Regions from separate parts of the Homo sapiens genome. Here regions 1, 2, 3 and 5 are each linked to region 4. The links are contacts of gene promoters, found by promoter capture Hi-C in blood cells and fetal thymus (Javierre and others, 2016). All regions are on one chromosome and are shown on one strand. Each heading gives the region's core, a stretch centred on a gene start or on the middle of the fragment in contact. The rest is flanking DNA. Distances are from core to core; before and after follow the strand shown.

Region 1 (3,228 bases), core at 251-2,750, 320 kb before region 4:
ATCATGTTTTTTTGAAAGAAAATAAAAAGAGCTTATTCAGTCTTAAGATTTAAAAGGAGGTACACTGTTCTTCTTTTGTACTTTTAATTGCTTTTATCATTGTAAATTGTATTCTATGCAAGAGTTGTTTTCTGAATAATTATAGCATTACTGAAGAACAGCTCTAATTTGGTAACTAAGCAAGATCCTTAGAAGTGGTAATAAATGCAGAAAATTAGAGCGTAGAACAGTGAAACTTTATACAGTATTAAATATGTGAAATCATGCAATAACATTTACATTTCTAAAACAAGGAAATATATTTTTAAAAAATTATTTTCATTATCCCTTTGAATTTTATTCACTTGTGCTGTTATAAAGCAATTTCCATATACAGTTTGGTCTCTTTTTAGATTTTCTTTTCTATTTCACTGATCCATCTGTCCATGAGTTAGTACCATACTTTTTTAGTACCACACTTTTAATTAGAAATGTTTTATTGTATGCTTTAAAATCTGATAACAATAGCTTTGCTCTTTTTTTAAATCAGTTTTCTTAGTTCATTCTTATTTTATTATTCTTCCAAATGAATTTTAAGCAGTTCGTCTAGCTCCATGGGTAGGAGTGAGGGGTATTTTTATGGGATTGTATCACATTTTAAATTAACTTTGTGAGAACTGACATCTTTATCATGATGGGTCTTTCTGTTCTGCAACACTGGTTTAAATGTTTGTGTCTTTCCATTAGTTTAAATGTTTGTGTCTTTCAAAACAGATGGCCCCTGTTCTGTTGAAACTTAGTCTAGTAGGGTAGACAAAGATTAATCAAATAGGCTTATGAACTAATGTAAGATTTCAGTAGTGTTATGTGCTACATTTTTATTGGCAGTAATAGTAAATGTTTCAAATTGAGTTTATGTTTTAAAGCAATGTACTCATTCCATATTTATCTAATATTGATAGGAAATAAAAAATAATATTGGCCAGAATTTTTGTAAGTCGAGAGAGAGCAATGGTTGTTAAATTATAAGTGGCAGTGTTGGGCCAGGCAATGTTTTCTTTTTTCCACTGGGTTATTTTACTCTTCATGAAAGCTTTGGCTTACTGTTGGGTGTTTATTTTATTGAAAGCAGTATATAGATTTAATTCTTAGATATCCTCATTTATGTGTATTACACTCTTACTAATTTGTTAACTGAATGTATGTGGTTCTATCACACACATACTGTGAAGTTCGTGCCACACTGCATGAGTTGGAAATCAGCTGTCCTGAGAGCTGACTGAAAGGCAACATCCCAGACCATGGGATTTTTAGTTAAAGGATTTAAAAGTTACACTTAGCTGTAAAAAATTAAAATTAAGAACCTTGGTTGCCAGTTAATCCCAGTTTTTTCCCCACACCAATCCTGATTTGTGTCTACTGTTGGTATCTTAATCTTGTTAGTCTCTACCAGTCTGTGCCTTAGTAGCACTCTCTGTAAAAATGGGAGAAAGCAACTATTTTTATAACAAAGTAGATTTGCCTTGCTCATAATTCTGAGGATTAGGAATAAGAGTCTGTATTTAATTCATTAATCTTTGAGGATTTGGTGAAATGTAAAATAATGATTGCTGCACCTTAGGGGGATCAGTTCTGCAAATTTGTGTAAGATAAACTGGAGCAGAAAAAGATGAGATAAGGAGATAAATTAATAGGCTCCTAAAGTAATCCATGTAAGAGGTAATGAATACTTGAATGTGGTTAGAAGAACTAAAAGGGAGATCCCTGATACAGACAACATTGTAAGGATAAAGTCCAGAAGCCTTTGCAGATTAAATGTGGAGTGTAGGCCAGAGTAGCAACAAGTAAGGGAATGAATTTGGATCTGGTCTAGGTGATGATAGTTTGGTCTCCATAAATAGAAATAATGGATTTGGGAAGCATTTGTTTTGGTGGAGTTAGTAATGTTTGAAGCTTATTGTCAGGACTTAGAAGCCATGTAGGTATTGGGATCAATGAGATGAAGATGTATCTCAGGAGATAGTTGGGGATTAGAGAGGTAGATTTGGTAGATAATAAAGCAATAGTTATAATTGAGATCATCAATAGGGAAACTAGAGGTTAAAATCCTTGAGTTGGAGGATACCTGGGAAATGTGGGAAAAGTCAAGGATGGTAGGATCTAAGAAAAGCCTCTTAAATTTGGTAATATGGTGTTCAGTAGTGTGACAGCAGTAAAATAAAGAAATAAAGGTTTCTTCCTTCCTTTTCTTTCCATGTGTGCTTAATACATATATGATGCGCAAATATCTTTTTTTAAACCTGAGTTGAAAGTTATAATATTAATGAAACATTTCTTAAGAACAAAATGGTATTATCTCCTGAATACCATAAGGAAGCAGTATTAAAGAGTTAGGCTTTTAGTATTATTGCCATCTTTTCTACCCTGTTACCCTTTTCTCTTCCCTGCCTTTATTCCTTAACTCTCCACGAGAAAGGCATCAGCCTTTGGTCTTCAAAATAAGAACTAGTACAAAAGATTTCATGAGAAAAATGGATCCTGAAAGCATATATTATTGAGGATTTTTGCTTTTCTATACTGCTAAAAATGCCTGCATTTTAAGTTTATCATTAAGGTGAGCTTTGGAAAAAATTTTAGCCTAATGTCGTCTTCTGCTATGGTTGAAAAATTGCAGGCTTTGGCATAGCTGTCCCCAAAATATCTTAGCACACTTTTTTATTTTTTAACGTTTTGAATTTTTTTTTCTTTAAGAGAGAGACAGGCTCTCACTCTGTCACCCAGGTTGGGGTGCTGTGGTGTATTCATAGCTCACTGCAGCTTTGAACTCCTAGGCTGAAGTGGTCCTATCACCTCAACCTCCCAAATAGTTGGGACTACAGGTGTGCCACCATGCCTGGCTAAATTTTTAAAACAGTTTTGTAGAGACGGTTTCTCACTAGGTTGCCCAGGCTGGTCTCAAGCTCTTGGCCTCAGGTGACCCTCCCACCTCAGCCTCTCGAAGTGCTGGGAATGCAGACGTGAGCCACTGTGCCCAGCCAACACACGTTCTTGACACGGTGAGGACATGCTCCATACCATGTCCACTAAAAGTCTGGGTAGAAAAATCAGTTCCAAATGCTGAAGGAAATGCCTCCAGCCCACTGTATTTGTGAAGAAAATCTTGGGTATCAGGGCTGCTATTTTAATTTTGCCTTAAAACAAGCATTGCTCAGAATACATGTTGTACCAAAGAATATAGACTTGACTTTG
Region 2 (3,167 bases), core at 196-2,695, 290 kb before region 4:
TTTAAATTTTTATTTTCTAATTATAGCAACTTGTATGTAGAGTCATGTGCCACTTTATGATGGGGATATGAGAAATGCATTGTTAGGCAGTTTCATCATGCAAACATCATAGAGTGTACTTACGCAAATCATGCAAACATCATAGAGTGTACTTACACAAACCTAAATGGTACATGCTGCTACACACCTTAGCTGTATGATATAGCCAGTTGCTCCTAGACTGCAAACCTATACAGCATGTTACTCTACTGAATACCGTAAGCAGTTGTGACACAATGATGAGTATTTGGGTATCTAAACATATCTAAGCATTTTTAAAATGTACAGTAAAAATGTAAAAAGTAAAACATGGTACACCTGTTTAGGGCACTTACCGTGAATGGAGCTTGCAAGACTAGAAGTTGCTCTGGAAGAATCAGTGAATGAGTGAATGCTTAGGACATCACTATACACTACTGTAGACTTTATAAACACTGCACACTTAGGCTACACTAAATTTATTTTTAAAATAAAGTAATTGCAATATGATGTTATGACAGCTATGATGCCACTAGGCAGCAGAAATTCCTGAGCTCCATTATAATCTTATAAGACCACCGTTGTATATGTGATCCTTCGTTATGTGGGACATGACTCGATATAAAATGGATTGTTATATTGACCTTTTATCTGATGACTTAACTAAATTTACTTATTAATTTTACTAGTTATCTATAGTCTCATTTTTCCTGTGTACACAATTAATTTATTTGTAAATACTAAATGTTTCCTTTTTTCATTACTCATATATTTTTTTCTTGCCTTACTACACTGCCTAGTAAAATATATAAAATATGTGCTTCACGGAAAGGGGACTTTGATTAAGGACATGCCTCCTTCAGAGCTTTTTCTTTTCCCCCTAGTATTTCCAACTTGGGGATGTTTGGCATCGACGAATTTACTGCAGTGATTAACCCTCCTCAGGCCTGCATTTTGGCGGTTGGGAGGTTCCGACCTGTGCTGAAGCTCACTGAGGATGAAGAGGGAAATGCCAAACTGCAGCAGCGCCAGCTCATAACAGTCACAATGTCAAGTGACAGTCGAGTGGTTGATGACGAACTGGCAACCAGGTTTCTTAAAAGTTTTAAAGCAAACCTAGAGAATCCTATCCGACTTGCCTAGTCCTCAAAGATAAGAAGTTGGTGTTCAGCTTAGTTGATTCAGTAGTTGTTACCAAGAAACATATGTTATAGGAAAACAACTTGGTATTTAAGTATGAAGTGGATGAAATGTTTATTTATTTAAGGTGAAAGCATTTGACCCAGGGTGTCTTCATCTTCAATTTGGGTTTAATGTTATAGAAATAAATGATGATAAACTCTAACTAATAAAGGAAAGAGAATATTTGGTTACTCAGATCCATTTTTAACCTCTGGTGCTGTATAAAGGGAATATTAAACTAGATGTAAATCAAAGTATATGTTTGGCTCATTTGAGCATTTTGGAATATTTGAGAATGTATGATACATGTAAAATTAAAAAAACTATTAGAACTGTACCATAATTATGTTGAAGGTAGAAGTGATCTTCAAAGAGATGGCCATTAACTTAGCAGTGGGACCTCACTTTTACAAGCACTGCTCTAGATATACTTGAAGAATTTAATAGGTACAGAAGTTTATTCTGGATAATAAATAAATAAGGATCACACTGTATTAGGGGTTATGGCAACATTATTGAATTTTTTATGTACATAAAGCCATATGTTTAGGGTGGTTTCTATCTGTCTTGTTTTTCACTTATATAACACTGTGAACTTCTAAAGCAAGAGGATAAAAGAAGCATGAATGAAAAGAATGACATTTCAAAAAAATGGTTCAATGAAAAACTATAGCTAAAATATGTAAACCTTTCTAGGTAAACCGCTTGCCTTCATCTTGAGTCGGAATATATTTAAATAAATTGTGTTATCTCTTGCCAAACATTTTGTTAGTGTTTATTTAAAAACAAAATGTTGTTTCTTAATGCATTTAAATCAGTTTTGTATTGTGCAGTAAAATGTGAGAAAATATAAACATTTCTATTGTATTTTAAATGTTAAAACACAAAAGTTCAATAAACCTTGAAGTTGATTAGTAGTTTTTCTAGAACACCTTTAAAAGGGCTCTACAGGAGAAAAGACGGAATTTAAAATTAGTATGACATTAGGAAAGTAACTGATAGGAAATGTAAAACTTTGGAAAGAGAATAGAAGACTTATGAAGCCAAACAGATGAGAACTATCCTTTTTATTTCACTAATATGAAATTTTCACTAATTATTATAAAGTTTAGAAGAGTTTGTTTCTCTCTTTTGGCAGCTCTGCTATAACTGTCAAGATAACTATATTTAAGTTGGATGGTAATGAATGGTAATTTAATTAACTTGTCACAAAAAGGTTTATGTTAGTGTCAGCTGACATGAATCAATAGAAGAAAGGCTAATATAGTACAAGTTGTATGGTATGACATGATGAATTATAAACCCTAACAGAAGAGCCTTCTAAAATAATTAGCACCCTGGTGTATTAATTGTTAAGAAAATGCTTAATCCAACTATCCAACTCAGTTTAACAAGCCATTTAAAAAAAATAGTCTTCAAAACTTTTGTCATATTAACAGTTACACTGAAAATTATAACCAAAGGCTATTTTCAAAATAATTTTTATGTTACATTATTTCCAAGGTCAGTTTTAATCGAAATTATTATTATTATTACTACTTTTTCTTGAGATGGGGTCTTGCTCTGTGGCCCAGGCTGTAGTGCAGTGCTGGGATCACAGATCACTGCAACCTCGACCTCCTAGGCTCAAGTGATCCTCCTCCCTCAGCCTCCCGAGTAGCTAAGGACTAAAGGCATGCACCATCATGCCTGGCTAATTTTTCTATTTTTTTTTTTTAGAGACAGGGTCTTGCCATGTTGCTCAGGCTGGTCCCAAACTCCTGGGCTCAAGTAGTCGACCCACCTTGGCCTCGCAAAGTGCTGGGATTACACAGGCATGAGCTACTGTGCTAGGCCGTTGTTTTTGTTGTGGTTGTTGTTTGTTTGTTCATTTTAATTTTTATATCTGAGGAACAGAACATGATGAGGCAGCCATAAATAAGCCTGACTCAGAGTTCTGCTTTTCATGAACTGACGTACATAAGCAG
Region 3 (3,038 bases), core at 226-2,725, 260 kb before region 4:
CACCTGGTTCAGCAGGCTCACTGGCTCCTCATCAGAATTGCCTGGGGAGTCTTTTCAAATGCACATTTCTGGTTCCCACTCTCAGAATGCTGGGTTCAGGGTTCAAAGCTCTGCAAGTGATTCACATGGACTGGTTTGTTTGTGATCTACCTTGGGAAAACTCCTTTTACAAATGAACTGAATCAACGGAATAGTTTCTTTTTCCTATTTACATTATGCCTGGTATGCTTTGCGAGTGTTGGGCCTTTGCAAGTGTCTCTTTTCAGAAATGCCATGTTTATTCCATTGCCTTTGCCCAAAACTCTGCTGGGACTCCCCCACTTTTCTTAACAGTGTTCAGAAATGGAATTCTTTTAACTGTCTTCAAAAACAGAGTGACAGCATGCTTTTGAGAGGAGAAGGAATGCTAAAATAATTTGTTATATATTTTTGAAATATTTGTCAAATGAGAAAGATTTTGTTATATTAGTGTAATGACAAAAACTATCGTATTAAAATATTTTCAAAAATAATTTCTAATAAGCCAAATTATATATCCTTGTACATTAATGTAATAAAATTTAAACGCCTATATATTGGCTATATGACCATTAAAATAATATAATCAGAAATTATTCTTGTTTTGTAATCACTTTCTTAGTTATTTTTTTCTTTAAAAAATTTTACTACTTATAAAATGTAATATGTGTAATTGTGATACGTAAGTAACAAAATAAACCTACAGAAATGTTATTTTTAGTGTCTGAATTTTATACAATACAAAAAGTAGAAGTACTTTATTAATGTGGTATCTTGATTGATCATAAAATTTTTCTCGCTTGCATTTCTGCAAATTCATTTATTAGGTCATAACTTTAGCACTTTTTTATGCTTTAATATTTTTTAGCAGATTTTTAAAAGAGCAGTTTTAGGTTCACAGAAAAATTGAGTGGAAGGTAGAGATTTCCCGTATCCCCCCTGCTCCTACATATGGCATTGTCTCCGCCATTGGCACCATCCCCCACCAGAATGATGGATTTGTTGCAACTGATCAAAATAATTTACATATCATTATCCCCAAAGTCCATAGTTTGCATTAGGATTCACCCTTGGTGTTATACATTCTATGGATTTGGACAAATGTATAATAACGTGTATACACTATGACATGTATCTACGCATACAGAGTAGTTTCACTGTCCTAAAAATCTTTTTTTCTTCACCTATTCATTCTGAGCCATTTTTAGCTCTAGTACTGAGTCATTAATATTTTTCTGAAGATTCTATTTTTTAGTATGTTTTAATGTTTTGTGGTTTTTTAAAAAATAAAGTTCCTGAGATCTTCAAAGTTATAATCTATAACTAATAAATTTAAAATTATTGATATATCAATTGACTCTTCTTTGTAGCAAAAAGTATGTTTTTCAATTGAGAAAATATCCAGTTTTACAGATGCTGAGGTAACTGGTAAGATCAGGGCAGTTTATGCTGGATGGAGAATATTCTCAATTCTGTATTTGGTATTGATAAAACTAAATATTTCGCAGATACTGTTCCACTTAGAGTAACTGTTTTGACAATTTTTTAAATGTTTTTGGGTACATAGTTGGTATATATATTTACAGGGTACATCAGATACTTTGATACAGGCATGCAATGTGAAATAAGCGTGTACATCATGGAGAATGATCCCCTCAATCCATCCCCTCAATCCAATTCAATTTTATAGACAATCCAGTTACACTCTTTAAGTTATTTTAAAGTGTACAATTAAGTTATTATTGACTAGTGTCATTCTATTGTGCTCTCAAACAGTAGGTCTTGTTCATTCTTTGTTTTTTTGTACACATTAACTATCCTCGCCTCCCCCACAAATATTTTTAAAAACAAAATTTAGCAAAAAGGTTGTCTCTGTTTTAAGTGCTTTATCAAATTTAGATGCTGAAAAATGGTAGGTTTTCTGAATTTTACTTTATTCCAGCACAGAGTACTAATTTATCTAATTAATTAACAATAGAAGCCCATCAAAATATTCTTCCTAGATGTCAAGATACTTGAAGCTCAATGACTAATTTTCCTAATAAAATCTCATATACTATTTGATCACTATTTTATGTGTTTAGAAACACTTTGATTTAATATGAATACTTTTTTTTTTTTTTTTTTAGATGGAGTCTGGCTCTGTCGCCCAGGCTGCAATGCAGTGGTATGATCTAGGCTCACTGCAACCTCCACCTCCTGGGTTCAAGTGATTCTCCTGCCTCAGCCTCCCAAGTAGCTGGGACTACAGGCACCCACCACCATGCCTGGCTGATTTTTGTATTTTTAGTAGAGACGAGGTTTCACCATGTTGACTGGGCTGGTCTCAAACTCCCAACCTCAGATGATCTGCCTGCCTCAGCCTCGCAAATAAGAATATATTTCAGTGTCTTCTTGTTTACTAGCTTTGTTTCTATTAATGGCAGTTCTCCAAAATCTTCAAGAGCTACACTTTGGGAACTTTCCATTTATTGTATACTTTAATTAAAGGTTTCCAACTGATTTTAAATTAAATTGAATTTAGAGTTCTCATTTTAAAATAAGTAAATAAATAAAAGTTCAGTACATTATAGGACACTTAGGTTGATTTCCAAAACAATTCAAAGGTTTAAAAATTTCTAATATCTGATTGATTATGGGCAGTGAAGAGGTAAATCTCATATGATTATGTCAAGATTTTTTTCTAATTCAACATTAGCCTTGTGGAAAAAAATTGATAGTTTAGTTGTTGTGTGTGTGTAAATTTTGACAAACAGAGCTTCTGTTTTTATTAGTAGAATGTTGTAGCTTGTTTGTACAAAATGATGGCTTACATCTTTTTTTAACCAACTATAAGTACAATTTTATAGCTCAATGAACCTATCGCTTTTGTTAGATGGGAGCAAGCAATGGGAAATGTCTACCATTTGGCTTTAAAAGTCTATAAGCAACAGTTACCTATGATGTGTGAGTTTGGGGTAGCTTCCAATTCATCATTGTCCTGACACATGTCAATTACCACATATAAAGTCAAATACAAT
Region 4 (3,248 bases), core at 553-3,052:
AGTGTGTGTTTTGAAGAGTTTTGACAAATGTAGACACCTGTGCATACCTGTGCATATGGAACATTTCTGTCACTCCCAAAGGTTTCCTTGTGTTCCTTCCCAGTTAATCTCTATCCCCCTATACCTGGCCCAAGAAACCACTAATCTCTTTCTTTTTTCTTTTTTTTTCTTAGGCAGAGTCGCACTCTGTCCCCTAGGCTAGAGGGCAGTGGCACAGTCTCAGCTCACTGCGACCTCCGCCTCCCGAGTTTAAGCAATTCTCCTGCCTCCGCCTCTTGAGTAGTTGGGATTATAGGCACATGCCACCACGCCCAGCTAATTTTTTGTATTTTTAGTAGAGATGGGGTCTCACCATGTTGGCCAGGCTGGTCTTGAACTCCTAACCTCAGATGATCCACCTGCCTCGGCCTCCACAAGTGCTGGGATTACAGGCATGAGCCACCGCACCCAGCCCCAACTGATCTCTTTCTATTGATATGTGGTACATCGTCTTTTCTTAGAGCTTCATATAAATGGAATCATACAGTACATACTCCTTTGTTTCTGGCTCTATTCATTCAATATAATGTTCTGAGATTCTTTGAATGCATCAGTAGCTGGTTCCTTATTACTGTACTTTTAACCTTGTGTCATAATCTCTCTGATTCCTCCACTAGACTGTGACGCCTTCAAATATTTCATCTTTTTCTTCTTTGGTTCTCAAATAGGTCCTCAGTAAATGTGAGCGGGAAGGAGGAAGGAAGAGTGAGGGAGTTGCCATGGGGATTAGCTAAGATCTTGGTTGCAACCTTGCCACCTGTGCATCCCTAGGAGGCAGTACTCACAGTCCCAGCAGAACCCCATCCACAGACACTTACAGCAGCCAGTCCACAGCCACCAGCAGGCTGATGTCCTCTGTTGGCAGGCCCACGGCTGTCAGAATGAGGAGCATGGTGACCAGCCCGGCACTGGGGATACTGGCCGCGCCGACGCTTGCCAGGGTGGCTGTGAGGCTATGAGAACAGAGAAGTTCAGGTCATGGAAATGGAAAGAATCTTAGCAAAACCAACCCTGGCAATTTTAAGCTCTAATTTTCCTGCAGCCATAAAATTCATCCCCCAACCCCCACCCCATACTCTCCACCAAGGAATAGAGAAATCTAAAGTACTAAGACCAAGGAATTAAGGATTAAGGCCTATTTGGGTACTGCTCAACTATGATGTAAGCTTATAAATTCATGGACTGGAGCCTTATTCCCATGATGCTATCCGGTTAGTCTAATATATCACAGGGCTCAAATAAGGCAAGCGTGGCTCTAAAAGCAGGCAAGGAAATATTAAAGATAAAAACAAATCACCCTTAATCCTCCCATGGGAACACAACTGCATTCATTTCTGCTTACGCTTTTATGTCTCTGTGAGCACCAGAGGCTTTTGGACTATGTGGCAAGGGTCTAAGAAGGCCATTGCCAAGGTTAACATGAGAACTCAGAATAGCAAATATCCAGACCCAACTGAGTTGGACATCAGGGAAACAAATCAACAGATTCCAAATGACACTAAGCGTCAGGCGCCTGGATGCCTCACCATGGGCTGGAAAATACATTATTCAGAAAGGGGATGCCAAGAAATGATAATGAAAGAAAGGAAGGCTTTCTTTCTGAAGCATCTCATCAGTTCTTTCCAAGCAATGCCAGGGCCACACCCAGCACCATTTTGAAGTTTGTCTCTGGGAGAGGGTTAATCTGGAGTTCAAGTGCCCTGTCCTGACACCAGGGAGTCTCTGTGGTCTGGCAAAGGGCAGTGACTCTTTTTCCTCTTTTCTAGATGCCATTTGTACAAAGCTGTCATATCAAAATGTCATATCAAAATATCCAAGAGTACTTTGGAAATATGGATTCCCAAGTTGTTTTTGTGGGTGCCAAAAGGTAAGGGGGACTGCTTTCTTTGTAGTTATAAAATACTAGAAATTTTATGAGCTGAGAGGCAGCCTCTCAAATTGTTTCAACTAAATCCAGGCCATCAGTTGACCAAGCACAGAATCCTGGGGTCTTATTGCTGAATATACCTAATCTTACGTTTGGAAGATTAAGGCCCCTGGAGAGCCTGTGGTTTGAGCTGTTTTTTCCCCTATTGCCATCATTCCCAGGTTTAGGCCCATCCTTGCATAGACACTTGCCCTGGGTGTGATCTACAGACCCCCCAACCACACCCTTCCCCTCCCCGTCCATGGTGTCAAGGCTCAGAGCACTCCAATTTCCTTGAATCCATCTGGGTCACAGGAGGTACAGTGTGGAGTGCTCAGCCGTGAAAGTTCTGCAGTTGAACAACCTGAGTTCAAATTCCAGCTCTGCCACTTAACCACATGACTACAGGCAACTTAACCTCCCTGTGCCTTGACTTCCTCATCTGTAAAAAGGAGATAGTAATGGTATCTCTCTCATGGGGTGGTCAGAAGCTTTCAGGAGCTAATAAATTAAAATGCACTTACAAGAGGCTGGGCACATTGCAACTCCCCCACCCCCACCATGCCCAGTGAATGTGAATTGTTTTTCTTATCAAGAAATCTGGACAGGACCAGGCTGCTTTGCAATGAAAACTTCCCTAAAGCCCTGAAAGCTGGAAGATGGGAATTCTCAACTGTTTCCCAAACAGACAGAACACCAGGGAAGGGGAACTCCCCAAGTTCCAACAGTCTTGACCTTGACTGTTTTATACACAGCATCAGTTGCTCTGAGTCACTCTTGCACATCCCTTTGCACTGTGGTTAACATTAACATTATCTGGTTATCCTTTGGTTGTGTGAGACAAAGTCTTAGAAAGATAATTCTTCCTGGAAGTTGCTTTCCCCTCTTGTCCCTAATAATACCCTCACCCTCCGGTAGGCACTGTCTCTGTGTGTGGAATTCTAAGCCCTGCAAGAGCTTCTTGGGCAGTGATTTTCCCTGCATCCCTCATTGCCTTCTGCTTTGCCTGGCCTTCCACTCCCCTGGCTCACTTCTCTAGGGTTCCTGGAAGCTGTTAAGATACTAGACACACAATATCAGAGCAGAACCTCACAGTAACCCTGCAAGGGACATATATGGTAACACCTGCTTTCACCGTGAGGAAAACACAGATAGGATGGGTGGAGAAACTTAGGTCACACAGCTTGAACATGGTCTGCTGGGATTTGAACACTGGTCTGCTTGATTTCAATGCCACACTTGTCCTTGATGGCCTTGATCCCTCCCTACACTGAAAATTCTATGAATTAATAAAAATGCTAAG
Region 5 (3,108 bases), core at 202-2,701, 300 kb before region 4:
AGAATTTTAAGTGAGGACTGTGGACTTAGGTGGTAGGTTTGGGGGTCATTAGCTGGCAGATGGTTTTAGAAGTCTTCACTGTGAATACCTGTGGGTAAGTAGATAAAGTGAAGAGAAAGCTGAGAGAGCCATGAAAGGTAAGCAGAGTAAGTTCATGAACTGTTACATTTGAATTTGTACAAACCAAATCTTTCTATGTGGTTATCATTAAAAGCTTGTAAGCACTGTAAGTCCATTTATATTTCTATTCCTAAAGGGGTTTTAAGCAAAAATGTTTATATATTTCTGGAATTCTGAATTAGAGGAGCTTTGATACTTTGCAGCTGACAGTTATCGTGACAGTTTGACAGTATTTAGGTTTATGGTAATTCATCTAATCCCTTTCTGTAGTCTCCAGGATGCCTTTGGAATGAGCTGTTATTCACCTAAAATTCCGTGATACTTTAGTAATAGGATAGGTTTTTTGCCACATACCACTGACTAGATCTAGATCTTAGAGTCTTTTTCTATAAGCTCTTGCAAGAAAGAATCAAGTGTTGTTTACATTTTCTAACACTGTTATACCCAGTGGCAAATGCAAAGACATAAACAAATACTTTAGTTATGATCAGCTCGTAGGAAGTGGGAGGACCCCAGCTTTATCTTAAAATCATTATGTATACTGGAAAGAAATTGATTCAAATGCATTCACCATAAAACTATGGATGGAGAACCTCATTTTATTAATCACACTAGGACCTATGCCAGCATTGCTTCATCTTTGGCTTTTGTTATATCCTGTTTTGTTAAGTTAAAAAGCAGTTAAATTTTTTTTCACCTACACCCCATTAGTAAAAAGAAATTTTCGAACACTTTCCCATATGTGTATATATAACTGTTTATATATAAAGTACCTACATGTATCACTGTTCTAGTATAATCAGTATGTTATAAAGCATACAGAGAATAAGGGTATTTGAAAAGAACGAGGAAGAAAATGAATCATCTTGTAAACTTCCTGACTGCACACACCACAGAGAGATCATTTGTCTTTTTCGAGACATAGGAGTTAGTTCTTTTTTTCTGATTATGCTTGTAATGGGTCCTTCAGGTTCTTGTGTATGATATCTAAGCAATTTAAAAAATTGATAACCAAGGCCCAGAAGTAAACTTACATTCATGGTTAATATTATTGATCCAGGACCTCATATAATGCAAGTTTTTCTAATCATGGGAACCTTATTGACTAAGCAAACAAAAGCTTGTAATTTTTTATCATTGTTTGTCAGTACATTCCATAATTTACAAGTTTGAAGTTGTAATGGTCAATGTTAAAGTTATATTAGGAATACTAATTTTACTAACCTTATTTTTCTTTCAGATGACATTAAAGTATCAGTAAATGATTTTATCATCAAGGCAGCAGCTGTTACCCTTAAAGTAAGTAGCAGACTTCAAATGATTTTGTCTTCTTAAGTAGTTTCATGTCGTGGAATTTTTACAATGACAAATAGAACTCTTATTTTTAAATCACAAAAATTTTATAATTGTCTTGCTAAAAATATCCTATCGTTTGATCTCCCTCATTTTACAAATGAAGAAACTGTAAATCAAAAGGGCTCACAATGAATTAGAGCAGGATGAAAACCATTTATTCTAGGCATTAGAGATAGAGCAGTAAACAAAAGCTTACTTGATTTCTGCTGTCCCTGGGGCTTACATTCTAGTTGGAGGAGACAAACACTATTATATGTCAGATGGTGAAAGTGCTGAGGAGAAAAAGAAAGGATAAGGGGACAAAGTAACTAGGGGTGATTTTTCAAAAGGGAAGCGAGGGAAGCCCCTCTGACAAGGCGATAATTTAGATACGGCCTGAGAAAACAGAGGGAGTGAGCCACATAGGTATGTGGTAAAAGTGCATTCCACACAGAGGGACCAGCAAACACCAAGGCTGCAAGCAGAGGATCGCATTAACCAAAGATGTGGTGCTGAGGGTGGAATGTGCCTAGTATGGAGAGGTGGGAGATAAGATTTAAATAACAGTGGGAGAGCATGAAGGGGAACCCAAGTACATGAGGCCTTGTTGGACATGGTGAGGACTAGGGATTTTATTATGGGTGAGAAGGAAGCCTTTGGAGGGTTTTGAACAAATAACTAATGTGATCTGACTTATACTTCAGAAACGAAAAGGAGAGGCTGCCCTGGGTGCTGTGTAGAATGTAGCCTGTGGAGAGGCAAGGGAGGAGACGATGAGCTCCCCTGGGAGGCTTTAGAAGATCACAGTGGCTTGGACAAATGTGGTAGCAAATGGAGCTAGGGTGAAGTGGAGATTTGTGTTATGTTTCAAAAGTAGAGCCAACAGGATTTGCTGATGGATTGGATATGGGGTGTGAGAAAGAGAAACAAGCATTTTGGCCCAAGCAATGGGAGGAATGAGTTTTCCATGTACTAAGATTGGGAAAACTGGGAGGGGTATAGCTTTGGGTTAAGGAATCTAGAGTTTGGTTTTAGACATGTTACATTTGAGGAGCCTAACAGATATTCCAGTGGAGGTGGCAGGAAGGCAGGTGAACATATGAGCCTGCAGTTCAGTGGAGGTGATGTAAACCTAGCTGGCTGGAGTTGTAAATCTAGAACCCAGGCTTCCTGCCTTCCTGCCTGGCACTATTTTTCATCATGCCTCCTTTCTGTAACGAGGCTATTTTCTGGGATCACTGCTTGTTAACAGACTGTATTTAAAGTACATTTATAATTAACTTTTTATTTCTTGAAAAATACATTAATGAGGGTTCCATGGTGTAATGGTTAGCACTCTGTATTCTGAAAATTACATTAATACAGAACTTAAAAAGCATGCCCTTTCAGCAGTATCTAATTATTCATATAACTTTTCTCTTTTGATGAAATATTTTGAATTATATTAATGATTTAATTAATTGACTATTATTGTGATTGATATCATTAATTGTGAATCATTTTTGCACTCCTTAAATAAATCTCTAATGGGCATAAGCTATTCGTTAATATTTCATTGGATAATGTTTGTATCCAGAGTCATAAGTAGTGGTAATTTAAATTTTGTGCCAACATTATCAGACCTTTTTTCCCTAATCATTGGCTTCATTAAAT

Evidence for each region. The method cuts DNA at HindIII sites, captures the fragments that hold promoters and counts their contacts. A CHiCAGO score of 5 or more calls a contact.
Region 1: a fragment that was not itself captured here is called in contact with the fragment with the promoter of SLC1A2-AS1 in region 4 in 5 of 17 cell types (activated CD4 T cells, naive CD4 T cells, total CD8 T cells and 2 more); the score reaches 8.1 in activated CD4 T cells.
Region 2: a fragment that was not itself captured here is called in contact with the fragment with the promoter of SLC1A2-AS1 in region 4 in 9 of 17 cell types (M2 macrophages, total CD4 T cells, total CD8 T cells and 6 more); the score reaches 8.6 in M2 macrophages.
Region 3: a fragment that was not itself captured here is called in contact with the fragment with the promoter of SLC1A2-AS1 in region 4 in 1 of 17 cell types (non-activated CD4 T cells); the score reaches 5.2 in non-activated CD4 T cells.
Region 5: a contact is called between a fragment that was not itself captured here and the fragment with the promoter of SLC1A2-AS1 in region 4, in 1 of 17 cell types (activated CD4 T cells). The highest score is 5.5, in activated CD4 T cells.

Annotation. Positions count from the first base shown.
Region 1 is chr11:34,960,564-34,963,791 of GRCh38, forward strand. The region is part of intron 5 of PDHX (pyruvate dehydrogenase complex component X); the gene reads left to right. Among named protein-coding and RNA genes, the nearest start is that of MIR1343, 20 kb to the left of the region's middle. The HindIII fragment of the contact is 860 bases long and covers 1,071-1,930 here.
Region 2 is chr11:34,994,012-34,997,178 of GRCh38, forward strand. It overlaps PDHX (pyruvate dehydrogenase complex component X), which reads left to right. Exons shown (of 11, transcript NM_003477.3): 11 at 903-2,117. The coding sequence ends at 1,161. Among named protein-coding and RNA genes, the nearest start is that of MIR1343, 54 kb to the left of the region's middle. The HindIII fragment of the contact is 5,121 bases long and covers 1-3,167 here.
Region 3 is chr11:35,018,061-35,021,098 of GRCh38, forward strand. It overlaps LOC105376626 (a long non-coding RNA gene), which reads right to left. Exons shown (of 4, transcript XR_001748180.2): 4 at 1-110. Among named protein-coding and RNA genes, the nearest start is that of MIR1343, 78 kb to the left of the region's middle. The HindIII fragment of the contact is 3,480 bases long and covers 1-3,038 here.
Region 4 is chr11:35,280,010-35,283,257 of GRCh38, forward strand. SLC1A2-AS1 (SLC1A2 antisense RNA 1) reads left to right here and starts at 1,803. Exons shown (of 2, transcript XR_001748185.2): 1 at 1,803-1,906. It overlaps SLC1A2 (solute carrier family 1 member 2), which reads right to left. Exons shown (of 11, transcript NM_004171.4): 9 at 858-992. The HindIII fragment of the contact is 1,231 bases long and covers 1,204-2,434 here.
Region 5 is chr11:34,976,764-34,979,871 of GRCh38, forward strand. It overlaps PDHX (pyruvate dehydrogenase complex component X), which reads left to right. Exons shown (of 11, transcript NM_003477.3): 8 at 1,361-1,419. Among named protein-coding and RNA genes, the nearest start is that of MIR1343, 36 kb to the left of the region's middle. The HindIII fragment of the contact is 427 bases long and covers 1,239-1,665 here.